Linked DNA regions of Homo sapiens: region 1 is linked to region 2. The links are contacts of gene promoters, found by promoter capture Hi-C in blood cells and fetal thymus (Javierre and others, 2016). All regions are on one chromosome and are shown on one strand. The core of a region is centred on a gene start or on the middle of the fragment in contact, and the rest is flanking DNA. Distances in the headings are between cores, read along the strand shown.

What was found. Contacts are between HindIII fragments. The CHiCAGO score rates a contact against its expected background, and 5 or more counts as called.
Region 1: a fragment that was not itself captured here is called in contact with the fragment with the promoter of LINC01412 in region 2 in 1 of 17 cell types (neutrophils); the score reaches 5.1 in neutrophils.

Annotation. Positions count from the first base shown.
Region 1 is chr2:145,052,976-145,055,675 of GRCh38, reverse strand. All of the region lies in intron 3 of TEX41 (testis expressed 41), which reads right to left. All of the region lies in intron 3 of LOC100505498 (a long non-coding RNA gene), which reads right to left. Among named protein-coding and RNA genes, the nearest start is that of LINC01966, 170 kb to the right of the region's middle. The HindIII fragment of the contact is 4,878 bases long and covers 1-2,700 here.
Region 2 is chr2:144,520,478-144,523,177 of GRCh38, reverse strand. LINC01412 (long intergenic non-protein coding RNA 1412) reads right to left here and starts at 1,310. Exons shown (of 3, transcript NR_110570.1): 1 at 1,252-1,310. It overlaps ZEB2-AS1 (ZEB2 antisense RNA 1), which reads right to left. Exons shown (of 4, transcript NR_040248.2): 4 at 2,279-2,424. The HindIII fragment of the contact is 4,746 bases long and covers 1-1,469 here.

The DNA of each region.
Region 1 (2,700 bases), core at 98-2,597, 530 kb before region 2:
TTTATAAGAAACAAACAACATTTGGAAAGTAGGAGATAAAACTCTCTATGACTAGACCACACTGGAAACAAAATACATACCTTACAAACTCAAAATTAATGAGTGCTGATGAGATGATCCAATGCAACAGAAAAATGATACAGTCTTTAGCTTCTTATATATTATAAATAACCAATTTGTTGGAACAAACTCCCACCTGCATCTAAGTATGCCTAAGAGCAGAAAAGAAGGACTAGATCCCTGCAAGTGGAAACCCCTGTGGCATGCTGTTGACAGGCTGAAATTTCCATGCCGTCTCTATTATTCACAAACAAAATGTTATTGTGGTCCTACTAGGCACCAGGATCTGTCCAGATGTAGAGAAAATAGCGTTGAAAAGATCTGGAAGATATCATTGTAATGGAGCTGATAATTGATTGGGATGAATGGAACAAAGGATCATAAAAATGAAAAGTAAATAAACTGAAAACGGAGTGAAATGTGCTATTATGAATAAAATGGGCTAATGAGGTGGAGATTTAGGGAGTACTTTGGGTTGGGAATTCAGAGTCTTTCCTCAACAGGTGACATTTAACCTGAGAATTGAATGATGAGAGCCAGCTATGTGATCAGGTTGAAGAGAATTCCAGATAGAATCTTTTATTTTGACTTAAAACTTCATTTAACTTTTATGTTGGATTTTATAATACATGCATGCTTCTTTCAGTGTAAATACACTGTGGACTTTTCCTCCGACATTAATGTCATATTCATTGAGAAGTCCATTCAGACAGCCTTCTCCATTTAGTTGCTTTGACTTCAGTTCATTTTGTCACTTCTTATAAACTAGCTGTTAGACATTGTTCCCCTCCTCTTAGCCAATCTCCTTTTCCTCCTTTCCACTTTACTCATTAATATATGCAATATACTTTCTCATCTTATCTCTAACTCTCACCCCCATCTGAACTCATTACTGAAATGAACGATGGGGTGTCTCATTTGACATATTACTTGTTAATAAAAATTGTGATACCCAAGTGGCCTCAATAAATTGTGTTCATACAAATTAAGGTAATATCAAATCGGCTGTTTCAAAATGTTCTTTTTTACCCCTTATCATTCTGACACACATCCCTAAGAGGGATCATTTTAAAAAATATATAAGAATATTAAAATAATTTCATTTTAATTCTGGTAGTAAGATGGTAGCAGGTTAGATCTGAGTCTTCTCTCCTCTCTTGGACTCTACGCAGTAAGGAAAACAGCAACAACAAAATTCGTGAACTCCATTTCCAGGGAAATAGCAAGATAAATTTCAAATTGTGTAAGTGTTGATTAAAGCAGCTGAGGCTGACAAAGCCTTTCAGAAATCCCTGCGGAAAGAGGCAACAGAAGCAGCAGTAGACTATGAAAAATGGGGTGGCATGTTGGGGGTTATAGCTAGTGGTAGGGAAACTTAGCAAGTGCCAGAAAAAAAATGTACACCTTCTATATAGGAACTATGTATTCTTTGGTGATAGTGGCCATGAGGACACTACAGAGCATGGGAATGAATGTAAAAGCACTGATGTAGTGGATTAGGTTCTGAGGAAAGCATGGGCTACAGAAGGGGTCATACTAAGAAAACGTTCATCAGTAGACAGTGAAGTTTCTAAGAGGTTTTAGGGTGTTTTCACTCAGCAGTCTCATAGGGAGCCTAAGATAAAGGGTTAATCTCAAAGAGATTTGTAGACATGGCTTTTCTCTAAAGGAGTATATTATTCAGTGATAACTAAGAAACCAAAAACTGAGCCAGGAACAGGAGCTGAGGCCTGTAATCCCAGCTACTCAAGAAGCTGAGGTGGGAGAATTGCTTGAGGCCACAAGTTCAAGACCAGCCTGGGCAATATGGCAAGACCCTGTTTCAAAAAAATTAAAAAAGAAAAAAAATCAAAAACTTTTTAAATTAATTACATTGGGTTAGACTAAAATGGACAGAAATTGTACAAAATAAGAGGGCTTTGAACCTCAAAACTTCTACAGCTACAGAGCTGGTTGAGAAAGCTATTAACATGTAGATGTAAATATTGGTAATTTCTATTGGAAAAGAAAGGATAACTCAAAGGGAAGAATCAGGAACCCAGAGGGTATAGCCAAGACTCATGGAGAATCATTTTTAGGGAGTCAACAAGCCCCAAACCATGCTGGATTTCAGAAATTGCTGTGAACCTTATACAACTGGATTATTTGTTGTAATAACTCTATCTCTATCCCAACCCTGCATATTGTGGCAGGGGGAAGCAAGAGTGCAGAGAGTACATGGTCCTGATTTAATTGACAAAATTCTGGACTACCAGCTGATGCCATAAGAGAATGAAACTTTTGCAGACTTTGGGAGGAGATGAAAGTATTTTATATGTTAGAGAAAGTAAACAATTCATGGCCAGAAGATGGAAGGTGTAGATTAAAGATAGCCACAAATTATTTTCTAGACTTCTCTTTCAAGTATAATTCCTCTCCACTTAAATCAGGGCTGACCCTAGTGTTTGCTTACTGAATCAAATGCAAGTAAATTCAACTACTTCTGAGGCTGAGGCTAGGTCATAAGAAGCCCCTTAGAGCTCACCCAGTCTCCTTGTAATACCCCTTTTTGAGCCATGAGCTGCCATATGGTAAGGTTGAATACCCTGCTGAAGATACCACCTGGAAAGGCCCTGAGACCACATGGGAAGGAAGAGGGTC
Region 2 (2,700 bases), core at 61-2,560:
CGAAGTGGATTATTAATGGGGAAGACAGAGAAGGAGAGATTCATTTGCAGGACTTATTTTGCTGTGTGAGGAGCCGAAAGCCAGCAGCCCCCAGTCCTCTCTCGACTTTTCTCTGCGTCCTGTGCTCCTGCATCCTCCTGATCCCACGATCCCCATTGTCCCCGAACTGGCCCTCGGACTGAGGGAGTGTTCGGAACAAATTTATATTCCGGCTTCCTCCCGACCCCATCACCTCTGCCACGTTGGGAACTCTCTCGGCCAAATGCCTGGGGAGGGGCGTGCCAGTCAGGAACCAGGGGCAAGGCAACCTAGCCGCAGCGCTCACCCCTCGCGGAGACCCTTCCCGTGCCACCATCCAAATATCTACCTTCATGGGAACCTGGAAGACTGCTTTTTCACCCCAAATCAAATACTGGCTAGTCGGAACTCCCAGTGATAAATGTTGGGGACTGCCTCCTGCCACTTGAGCAATTCCTGAGTCCAGGGTAATCAGATGATTAGGTGTTTTTAATGGAAATACTTAGGGTTTTTTTTTTTTTTTTTAAGTCAGATCCTAAGTAACCTGACATTTAATATACATAATAAAGACAAGTGTTTTGTTAGCTATTCGATTGGATCCTTTGACCTGAGGTTATGCTTGTGTGTGTGTCTGGTCTGTAAGCCTCCAATGGCTACCTGGGTGCCTGAAGAGGAGTCTTGCCTGTAATAACTCTATGCAAAGGGCTCCTTCTTCCTTAGGAGTGGTGGAAGGGTGGCTGTAAAGCAAACGTCTAGAGAAAGCTGGATTCCAATCTTTTAAATTAAAAAAGAGGAAAAAAAGGAAGAGGAAGAAAAATGGACATGAACAGTGGTGCTAAATCTCAGAAGAGGAACTTGATAAGTCACACATATATTTAGTATAGATATATAATAATGAAAGAAATGTAAAATATAAAATTAAGAATGTGCCTGACCCATGTTGAAAATCTTTGATTTTATTTATTAATAATTTTTAAGCTGAAGATCCTGAATGCCTTTCTTCTATAGACACTTTATCTGTGATGGGGTGGGGGGAGAGAGTTAATTTATCCAGCAGCTATTTTCATTATAATAAATACTTAAATTAGGAAAGAGGTGAGTAACCAACTGTGAAAATCTACTTTCTTGCATCCTAGAACAAGATCTAGCTGTGGTCGTGCTAGGTAGCTATTAACCACCCCCACCCCACTCCCCCGCCCCGCAAAAAAAAATACAAAATACAAAGACGTATACCTCTGGGAGTGTGGATGTGGCAACCCATGTGGTGGCTTGTCCCTCCTTTGAGTGCAATTGCCAGTGACTCTTGCATTCAAAGTCTTGCTTTAGGCACACATTCAAAGCACAGTTCAAAGCAGTTTATCTTAATATAGTGTTGGATCAGGGTATTATTTGTTTCAGATTTCATCAGACTGGAAACAGGAGGGTGTAACATATTTAACAATATTAAAGCTTAAAAATTGGTGTGAGGCAGCTCTCTGGTCCTCTTAACACCTCCACCTTTACCTTTCCGAAGAATCCTAAATGCTGTGAGGCTAGAAGTTTATTTGTGCTCTGAGGTTCTCAAGCACTTTCACTCTTTAGGAAAAAAAAAAAAGTCTCACAGTTATTTAAGAAATTGAGCCTGAACCATCCGAGGATAGGAGATTTCTTCCTTTTCCGATAAATGCCTGTGCTCAGCATCCTCAAATTTGGCTGTCTTTATTTACTTCTATATTAGTTCCAATTATGTGCAGTGTAAACCAGCTTTTTGATTAACAAAACAGCAGAGCATTGGTTAAGAACACTTAAACTTCAAAAAAATTCCCCTGGGAAGTGGGCTCTGAATTGGTTAATAATGTGCAGTACTTGCTAAATTGCTGACTTCCAGATGTGGAAAATATCTTTCTTGTTTAGGACCTATGTAACCTGATTGGATTACGACAGAAGCGTCACGTTGGAAGCTTTTGAGTGATTATTTAATTAACCATACAGTAGAAAGCTGTATTCTCCAGGAAATCCCTTCCATATTTGCATAACCAATCCCTTCAGAGCAAAGGTGGAGTCTTTTCTTTTTAATCTTACTTTAATTGTAATATCAAAAAATATATACTCCAAAACTTAGACCCCATGCCGTTTAATATCATGCTCTCCCTTCCCTGCTAAGTTTCTCTATGGCCTTTCTCGTTTCTCCTCCTGCCTCCCTACACACTCTCCCTTACTTTGTAGTGAGGTCTCCCCGAGGTGTAGAGAGATTCAGAGATCGGCCAACCGAGTGTTCTATTTTAATTTACTTAGAGACCCTTTATTAAAATGCCAAACTACTTTTTAATATTGGGATCCAGTCCAGAAATTCATCATGCACACACCCTAATACACATGCCCTAAGATGCAGCTCCCATGCAGCATTTTTTTTTCTGGCTCTGGTACCTAAAAAGAAAAAAATAACAATAAGAGAAAGGGCAGAGAACTTTGTTCCAGAAGCTGTACTGAGATACCTACACAATTTGATGTGCATCTCAAATCTGGTCATTAGAGATATCTGTATAAGAAGAGACTATCTGGATTGAGGACCCGGGATCTTTCCCTTTAACTTTCGCCCCTTGGAGTTCTCCAGTTCTGTGAATGGTGTGCACCGTTTTCCGCCCTGTACTCTGTAGGATTTAGTGATGAGGATAATGATGCCAAAGGCTTGACGGGCGGGGA